2 separate regions of the Homo sapiens genome follow, and region 2 is linked to region 1. The links are contacts of gene promoters, found by promoter capture Hi-C in blood cells and fetal thymus (Javierre and others, 2016). All regions are on one chromosome and are shown on one strand. Each heading gives the region's core, a stretch centred on a gene start or on the middle of the fragment in contact. The rest is flanking DNA. Distances are from core to core; before and after follow the strand shown. Region 1 holds the start of C16orf95 (chromosome 16 open reading frame 95). Region 2 overlaps MTHFSD (methenyltetrahydrofolate synthetase domain containing).

The links. Contacts are between HindIII fragments. The CHiCAGO score rates a contact against its expected background, and 5 or more counts as called.
Region 2: a contact is called between a fragment that was not itself captured here and the fragment with the promoter of C16orf95 in region 1, in 1 of 17 cell types (M0 macrophages). The highest score is 5.9, in M0 macrophages.

The regions. Positions count from the first base shown.
Region 1 is chr16:87,315,214-87,319,931 of GRCh38, forward strand. It overlaps C16orf95 (chromosome 16 open reading frame 95), which reads right to left and starts at 2,179. Exons shown (of 7, transcript NM_001195124.3): 1 at 1,878-2,179; 2 at 559-610. The coding sequence starts at 2,029. C16orf95-DT (C16orf95 divergent transcript) reads left to right here and starts at 2,296. Exons shown (of 2, transcript NR_135180.1): 1 at 2,296-2,509; 2 at 2,644-2,830. RefSeq lists enhancers at 1-500, 1,757-2,206. The HindIII fragment of the contact is 6,644 bases long and covers 631-4,718 here.
Region 2 is chr16:86,541,197-86,546,333 of GRCh38, forward strand. It overlaps MTHFSD (methenyltetrahydrofolate synthetase domain containing), which reads right to left. Exons shown (of 8, transcript NM_001159377.2): 6 at 905-1,017; 7 at 501-626. Among named protein-coding and RNA genes, the nearest start is that of MTHFSD, 11 kb to the right of the region's middle. The HindIII fragment of the contact is 2,370 bases long and covers 2,620-4,989 here.

The DNA of each region.
Region 1 (4,718 bases), core at 929-3,428:
CAGCTCCTACTGCAGCTTGGAAAGAGGCAGGCTACCGTGGCTCGCCCTGAGGCCTCCAAGGTCATTTGGAGGGGGATCCCCCGGAGCTTGCAAATCAGGTGCGCTGGGATTCTCAGCTGCTTCCTGCTGTGCTACAATGAGCAAGTCTCGTGGTCCCCTCTGAAAATGGGCATGTACAAGCAGCTCTAGAGCTTATGCGCACATGAGTGCTGCCTTTATGGCCATCTGTCACACTCTGGTGTGCAAGAGCTTCCACATCCATCCCATGTGACCTTCGCAACACCCTCAGGCAGGAAGGAGAGGTGCTGCCATCACCTCCAGGGGCACACGGAGAAGCTGATGCCCAGAGCAGGTATATTAGGTGGCCTCCTGAACTCTGAGGTGTTGTGAGGGCCTGGGAGGTGTTCTGGAGGCCCAGGGATAGCTCCTGCAACCACACTTTTGTGTTTGGAGGATTCTCTCATGGGATGCAGCTTCTGGACCCACATTCCCTGCTCTCCTCACCCCACAGGGATATGTTGGGGTCAGGGCCAGTGGCTGAGGATTTGCTTTCCTTACCGAATGACGGGGGAGGCACACTTCTTTCTTGTAGGTTTGAAATGTGCTATTCCTAGAAGAGAAGAACAGAAAAGCTTAGGGTTTGTGTAAACTAGGGGGCAGGGATGCTAGAGCACAGGCCTGGACCTGTCTTCTCAGAACTGACTCTTAATAATAAAGCCCACGGGTGGTGGGGATGGGGGGATCCTCTGAGCCCAAGAAGAGTGAGAGGGTGACATCAGAAGCAGGCGTGTGCTAGCTCATGCGTGAATGTCTAGGGGCTCCTGGGGGCTGGCTGTCATGGAATCCTGCATTCCCAAGCCAACCAGCTTCAAGCTGACTCCAGCTACACTTGTGCTTGGAGCATCAGAAAAGACAGGAGCATTCCAACCTGCTGAGAACTTTCCAAGACATGTAGCTGCCAATCACATCACCTAGGATGATCTGTCAGACACCCTCAACTTACTGAAATACTGAAGAAAAAACATCGTCAAACTGTCCATTAATGAACCTCCTTCCACTATAAAAACCCGGGTGCTTTGTCTCTGGGATGACAAAGCACTTGGGGTTACACAGCCTGTGTGGCTCTTCCCTGTTCCACTCCCCAACAAACTGCTTGAATGTTGGCTGGATGAAGCGTCTCCAGTGGGTGCAAAGCCCTGCTTCCCTGACAGTAGTGGGTCAAAGTGCTTTGTATGTGGAAACCGTAAGAGCGATATAAGTGTTTTTGGGTTTCATTGTCATAATAACCATTATTATTATTGCTATTTTTGTGAGAGTAATAGGTTCACGCATCAACTCTCCCAGATAATGCTTGAAAACAGAGGATGGGGCACTGCCCTCCACAGCATCCGAGGCCCCTTCTGGTAATGACAGCACTGCTATATTCCTGGTGGGGAGGGGGGGGGCCACAGCCATCTCAGTCCTTGTAGTTCAGGTGGGCCAAACTCACCACTGCCCAGCCTGGAAAGCTGGGAAAAAAAAGAATCTCCTTTTTGTTGAGGTTGATAATCTGATAACATGTAAACCTCAGGAGGTCCTGGTGATCATCTTGCCTCCACAAGGGAAGCCAGCAAAAAGGAAGGAAGCTGAGAGATGGAGAGAAACCTTCCAGGACCATGGTCAATGTGTACCTGGATACATCCATGCCTGAAGGCCTACTTCTGACATTTTCAGTTATGTGGAACCATCAGTTGCGTTTTTGTTAAGCCAATGTAAGTGAGGTTCCTGTGGGTGGCGGTCAAGAGTTCTGCCTGTGCATAGGTCATGGAGCAATGCCGGGCCGGGAACTCACAGGCGAGGTGTCGGGTAGCCGCGGGCAGGATTCAGGACTCACTTGCCTGCCATCCTGCGCGCTGGGTGTGAGTGCCAACCTGCAGAGCCCGACGCACCCCGCGCCCGGCCCCCCGGCAGCAGCGCCTGAGGCTGCTCCAGTGGCCTCATGATGATGGTGACAACGCCGCGGGGACGGTGGGGACCGGCTCGCACGCATATGGCTTCTTATGGCTGACGCGCCCTTTCACACACACATCGTCCGCAGGCCCTGACGCCCTGGCTCCCGCCTTTCCCTCCTGCCCCAGGAGGAACCCAACCCGAGCTCAACCCCAGCCCCAACCTCAACCGCTCAGAGGAGCCCAACAACGCCCGCGCGCCCGCCCGTCCCGCTGACTAGCCCGCGCCCAGCCAATCAAAATTGGCCTTCTAGGTATGTGACCTTAGCTGGCAGCTGATTGGTCCCTCACGAGAGACGCGGGGTCAGCGGCTCAGAGCGCGGCTGTGTGGGGCTGCGGGGCTCCCGCCATGCCCGCTGGGGTAGGTCCTGCGGACCCCGGCCACTGGAGCCACTCATCATTTCCGACGGATGGGCCGGAGGGGCCGCCGGCCGCCCCAGCCAGGGTCTCGGTAGCCTGCAAGGAGAGAAAGAGGTGGGAGCAGCCCGCGCGGGGCCCTGCGTCTTGCATAGGCGCTTCTGGTAAAATCACTCCTTTATCTCAGATAATGAGTTGGCGCTGGATCGCTGCGTCCTCAGGTGGGGCTCGAATCGTGACTTTTAGAGAAATAGGTTTTCTTTCTTTTTTTTTTTTTTTAACAACATGGGGTTTAAAGGGCGCGGAATTGGAAGCAGTCGTCACCCGGAGGCCTGGGCGTGCAAGCACCGAAGCTCTGGCTGGCCCTGAGCCTCCCCACCCCACCCGCTCTTTTCGCTGGAACGCGTGTACTTTGGGCAGTTGCTGACGTGGAGACAGGACGTATGTCTTCATATTTTAGTAAAACCCAATGCCCTCTGCCTCTCTGATTATGTTCTTTAAGTTATCGCCAGTTCCAATTTGTATTTCTTGGAAACGGTTGGGTCTTCCCTCACTTTTCAGTATTTTCATGTAGACTCAAATACTCTGGATTAATATTTGTATTTGCCCAAACCATCACGAGCACCTCTTACCCTGATGGGCAATACTTCAGTGTGCTGCGTTCTGGCCACAGAGCAAACAGGGTGCTCCCAGGCACTGCCCTCTCGGATTTCTTGCCTTGTTATTTAATCATTAAGATCGTGACCTATGAGCAGGACTGTTTCCAGCCAGCACATACACATGTCCTCTCCTGGCCAGCATCCATGCTGATTAGACGGTGCCCCTGCCATACTAGCTGCCTAATATTTCAGATACCCCACCCCGTGTGTGTGTGTAAATCATGTCACTGCCCTCTTTGTAGCTAATGACAAAATTCCAAGAGTCACCATTAGCCTAGCACATTATGCCTGTCTCATTTCTGCCCACTTTGGAGCACTCGGCTTCTCTGCTGTTTTCCTCCAGAGCACACTGAAACACTGCCATAGCACAGCAGGGCATAGAAGACAGGCTCATGCTCCCCTGGACGCTCAGGCCTTCACCTCGGGCACACTAGGTCTTGTCATTCCATGTCAAGAATAGCTCTTCACTGCCCTCACCCACCCAAGAATGGCTAAAATTAAAAGGACTGACAATACCTAGTTTGTCGAGGATGTCACAGCTGGAACCCTCATACATGGCTCATGAAATTGATAAAACCACATTGGCAAACTGGTAGTATTTACAAAACCTAAACATATGAATACCTGATGACCAACTAATTCCTCAACTCACCCAAGAGAAATGAGAGCTTATGTGTACCAGAAGACATGAACAAAACTACCCACAGCAGCTTTCTTCCTGATGGCCCCAAACTGGAAATGATCCAGATGTCCATCCATAGGAAAAAAAGATTTTAAAAAGAAAGTATGGCATGTTCACAGAGAGGAAATTCTGTACAACAATGGAAATGGGCACACAACCACAACCCACAACAATGTGGATGAAGTGTACAATGAAGTCAGACCCCAGAATGTACAGACAATTCCATGTGTGTGATGTTCAAAACCAGGAAAGCAAATCCATCATGACACAGGCTGGGGATGTGAAGGAAACTCCAGCCACCCTGCCCCTGTGCTCTGAGTAACAAGGCCTAGATCCCAATCCTTGCTCTGCCTCTTATCAGAGACAGGTATCAGACAAGTTGCCTAACTTTTCTGAGCTTCAGTTTTATGTCTAAAATAATGATAACCATAGAACCAATCCCAAGGAAGTTTCAGAAGATCAAATATGAAAGAGCATGAAAGGTGCTCAAAAACCAGGGACTGTCATGGTAGCTCACATCTGTAATCCCAGCACTTTGGGAGGCCAAGGTGGGAAGATCTCTTGAGCCCAGGAGTTTGAGACCAGCCTTGGCAACGTAGTGAGACCTCATCTCTGCAAAAAATTTAAAAATTAGGCATGGTGGCACATGCCTGTGGTCCCAGCTACTTGGGAGTTTGAGGTGGGAGGATCACTTAAGCCCAGGGGGTTGAGGATGTAATGAGCCATGATTCCATCCAGCCCGGGTGACAGGGCCAGACCCTGTCTCAAGGAAAAAAAAAAAAAAAGCCAGACAGAGTCCAGCACACGTCAGTTTGTGACGTGAGTGTGCTTCAGGCTGGAAGTTTGGCCACTACCACTGCCTGTTTTAGGCTTTTGTTTCCAAAGCCCCCAAGTAGAGGGAAAGAGGAGCAGAATGAGATCTTTGTGAACCCAAGGTAATGGGTACCCAAGCCAAACCCACAGAACCTCCTTGATCCCAGGGAGAGAGTTGCAGGTTCCTCCCAGATCACACCTCCCCAGGCAGCCTATACC
Region 2 (5,137 bases), core at 2,555-5,054, 770 kb before region 1:
ATCTGGAGATAAAAACCACAAATGCATAAAATGTACAAAGGCTTGGTACTGCCTCCTACTCAGGCTAGATCTGCTTGAAGATCCAGATCGTCAGTAAAAAAAAAAAAAAAATCTGGATTTAAAAAGGGAAGACCAATGAGATAACACCAGGCAGAGCTTGCTGCGCCTGGGATGGCAGAAAACAACTCTTAAAAATGAAAAACAGGGGGCAAGTAAAGCTTCAAGGCATTCACCCTCCCAGCCCATGTGGCCATTTCTGCCATCTACAGAGGCAGATTTTAAACCTAGCTGCTTTTTCGAATCCCAGAGATCCATACGCAGATTCTTAGGCCTGGGCCTGGACATGGTCATTCAGGAGCCAAATTGCTCAAAAGCTCCTTGGGTGATTCTAACATACAGCCATGCTGGGATTGCCAACAGCTCCCATGCCAGACAGAAAACACTTAAAAGAGGAGGAGCCGCTAAGCTACAGGCCAGAGCTGGCCACTGCCGTGACCCACCTTGAACCAGGTGATTCCCATTGGCTTTGGGCGCTTGCAGCCTGTGGCGATGACTCTGGTTGGAGTGAGGATGTAGTCCACAGTGATGTCGTGCTCCTCAACAAGCTCTTCAGGGATGTCCACGACCTGGGGGAAGAGAGGAGGGATAAAGGGGCTGCTGGGAATGCCACTGCAGTCGTGCACACTGCCCCGCTCGGTGGGAACGTGAGGCTGGCTAGAGAAGCACCCCCAAATCCACTCTGGGGCTAAGGCTTAGCCGCTGTACCACTAGCAAGTCCAGCCCTGGCTGATCCACACCACTCGCCACACAGCATGGTTCAGAAGCAGATGAGTCTCCTTCCCCACCCCCTGCTCCCTCAGAAGAGAATGGCAGTGGCTCTGCTCAGCCCATTCATAAGGAGCACCTGGCAGTCGTGGACGATGGTGACCACCGGCGTCTCCTTGCTGACGGCGCCCATGGATACCATCATGGCATATTCCAGATCGGCGTAGCCTTCTCCCTTCCCGATTCTCCAGCCTAAGAGACAACCGAGAATCAGTATCGCTGTGCGGTCCGGGGCATCGCTGAGAAGTGGATTTTCCATCAGGTCCAGTGGAAGAAGAAACTTGAACCCAATATCCCGAGCTAATCTATAGAAATTTTCACAGAAATGCCCACCAAATGCCCACAAGCAGCCCACACTGACGATGGACTTTTGGGCATTCAACAGGAATAACAACACGGCCAATGTCAGGTGGTGAAACTACAATGACGTGAACACTGGACCGTTCAAGCATGTCACAAAGGGAAACAGATCACACTCATGTCAGCTTTATGTTAGCAAGACTCATACTTAAAAAGAATGAAAAGAGCAGTTCTCAAAAAGACTAAAAACAAATTCCCACTGAAAGCAAAACATGTTTAATCAACTTACCTCGGAGGGAAAATCGCTGCTCTGAAGTCAGGAGTGTGTGAGGGCATGGCCTTGTTTCTTCAAAAGCACTGAATACTCACCACTAGATACCAGGTCCTGAGGGACGGTTTAAGCAGTACTAAAGCGTTTTGCAAATTTGTAATTAGTGGCACAACAAAAGGATTATCTGAGCCTAAAAGAGTAGCTAAGATGAAATCGAGGTTTAACAGCCTCTCTAGCCAAATCAGCTATTCAGAGACAAAAATGCAGGAAGACAGGATACATCAAATGCCTTCTGGCCCCCATGGAGAAGCTACAATTCCGCTTATGAGAAGCCTGAGGCACTTCAGAAACTGAGGCCAGCGAGTGCCACCAGCAGCATCACCCGCAGAGCACCCGCATCACTGCTGCCGTGTCTAAGACTCACATCTGATCAAGCTACTTTGACAATTCAAAACCTTCAACTGTGCATGCAGAGAAACAAGAGAAAGAAAATTCAACAGAAAAATAGCAAAGGATATGAACAGTTCACAGAAAATGACAGGCAGATAAGCCGCAAACATGAAAAATGCTTGACTGCCTCCTAATTAGGTGCAAATCAAAGGCAAAGGAGATGCTAGTCACTGCTCACTAGCGGACTGCTCAAAGTCAAAGCTGGCTCACTCCAGCTAGGAACAAGGAAGCGGGAAAAGAGGCCAGGCACCACTGTTGAGGGCCGAAAGTGAGCGGCCCTTCTGGTGGCAACATCAAGGCTGACAATCCACCCTTCAGTTCAGCAACTCCCCTCCGAGGCATTGGCCCCCATGGATAGCCCCAAAGGTGCACCTAGACTATCCCACAGAACATACTTCACTCCAACATGGTCTGTAAGAGAAAAGACCAAAGCCAAATCTGGAAATAACTCATAACGTATGCATCCATCGGCGGGGGTGGGCTTCAGTTACTGAGGTGCAGTCACGTGAGAACACCGTGCAGTTCCTCAACACGGGCCCAGGAGGCCAGCCCGCAGTGCTGACAGGAAGGGGCTCTAAGACACAGTCTCCAGCAAGGCACGGAGCTCTGTGTGTGCCACCGTCCCTTCTGTGAATGCAGAAAAGGGATATCTATACATCTATACCTAAAAACTATAAGACAGGGGTTCCCAACTCCTGGGCCACAGACCAGTACTAGTCCATGGCCTGTGAGGAACCGGGCCACACAGCACGAGGTGGGCAGTGAGAGAGTGAAGCTTCATCTGTATTTACAGCCGCTCCCCATCACTCTCATTACTGTCTGAGCTCCGCCTCCTGTCCGATCAGCTGCGGCATTAGATTCTCACAGGCGTGCAAACCCTCGTATGAATGGTGCATGCCAGGGATCTAGGTTGCGTGCTCCTGATGAGAATCTAATGCCTGCTGATCTGTCACTGTCTCTTATCACCCTGAGATGGGACCGTCTAGTTGCAGGAAAACAAGCTGAGGGCTCCCACTGATTCTTTATTATGAGTTGTATAATTACTCTGTGATTTATTATGATGTAGGAATAACAGAACTAAAGTACACAATAAATGTAATGTGCTTAAATTATCCTGAAACCGTCCCCTCCCTGGTCCATGGAAAAATTGTCTTCCATGAAACCGGTCCCTGGTGCCAAAAAGTTGGGGACCACTGCTATAACATATCTGTGTCTCGGCAAAAGAAACTATCATCAGAGTGAACAGAGAACCTACAAAATAGGAGACAATTTTGCAAACTATCTGTCTGACAAAGGTCTAATATCCAGAGTCTGTAAGAAACTGAAACAAATTTACAAGAAAAAAACCCAAACAACCCCAATAAAAAGTGGGCAAAGGGCATGAACAGACACTCCTCGAAAGAAGACATTTATACAGCCAACAAACATGGAAAAAAGCTCAACATCACTGATCATTAGAGGAATGCAAATCAAAACCACAATGAGACACCACCTCATGCCAGTCAGAATGGCCACAGATGCTGGCAAGGCTGTGGAGAGATAGGAACACTTTTACACTGTTGGTGGGAAGGTAAATTAATTCAACCATTATGGAAGACAGTGTGCTGATTTCTAGAGGACCTAGAACCAGAAATACCATTTGACCTAGCAATCCCATTACTGGGTATATACCCAAAGGATTATAAATCATTCTACTCTAAAGACACGTGCACATGTAGGTTCACTGTAGCACTATTCACAATAACAATGACATGGAATCAACCCAAATGCTCATCAACGATAGGCTGGATAAAGAAAATGTGGTACATATACACTATGGAATACTATGCAGCCATAAAAAGGAATGAGAGCATGTCCTTTGCAGGGACATGGATGGAGCTGGAAAACATTATCCTCAGCAAACGAACGCAGGAACAGAAAACCTAGCACTGCATGTTCTCACTCGTAAGTGGGAGCTGAACAATGAGAACATATGGACACAGGGAGGGGAACAACACATACTGGGGCCTGTCAGGGCAGGGGCAGTGGGAGGGAGAACATCAGGTAAAATAGCTAATGCATGCTGGGCTTAATACTTAGGTGATGGGTTGGTAGGTGCAGCAAATCACCATGGAACACGTTTACCTATGTAACAAACCTGCACATCCTACACATGTATCCCGGAACTTAAAAAAAAAAGATATCTGTGTCTCACACGCATGCTACTATGTACAACGTCTACACTAGGAACTCCTAATGGGGCAGCTGGGAAGGAACAGGGAAGACTTATGGTGCAGCTTTCTGTGCTGTTCAATTTTCTAAGCAGACACATGGTTACTTTACTACTTTACACAGGGGGTTAGCTAAACGATGAAACTTACGAAGTGTTACTTTCTTCTTTATACATCCCTGAACCTGATGATATTTTCCAAGAGGGGACCTTTGCTGATTTCCCACCACCAAGAGCCCAAGTCCCATCATCTGGCCTCAAGGCTGCTGAGAAGGGGCCGCAACCTAGTAAAGGGCCTGCTGCCTGAGGACCCTTCAGTCCCCTCTGCCTGGACTGTGGCCGGCATGCAGGAGCCAGCCCTGAGGCCGCTACTGAGGAGATGCCCCCTCCAGGCTGGCACGTCCCTCCTCAGACTCCCCTTCCCCCTCCCGTCGGTCCTGACTTGTGTCCAGCACTGAGCACGTCACGTCCTGTCCTGGTCCAGCTCTCGTGTCTGGCCCACCCACACACCATGCACTTAAAGACCACCCAGTGCCTGCCTGGCACACAGCAGGTGTAGCAGGTATACCAGAACAGTGCGCTCCTGAGTCCCCAGCCCCGATGACACAGACGAAGCACCAGAAACTGGGAATGCACTGAAAGCAAAGAATAAAGAACAATGTCCCCACATCAGCTCCAGTGGTGGCTGGGAAAAGAGGGCACCCTGAAGCTGGAGACAGCAAGAGGTGGTGTGGTGACCCTGCCCTCTTAGCAAGGGCCCCCTGGCCTTGTGGACCGAGAGCAGCCTGCCTCACATGCAGCGTGGCAAAGCACCAGGCCTGAGAAGAAGTCTCGGACACACCACGTTGTTCAGGAGTCTCGGACACACCACGTTGTTCAGGAGTCTCGGACACACCGTGTTGTTCAAGAGTCTGCTGCTTCATAATAAAAACAAAGCTTGGAACCTACTGTTTTTCCATTTGCTGGAGTCCCTCCAAAACCAACTATTTACTGACATACTGAAAAGAAATTAAGCTCCAGCTCACTCAAGAACAGAGAGAAAACCTTTCACCACCTGAACAGAGAGTTATCTCACTTTGTTT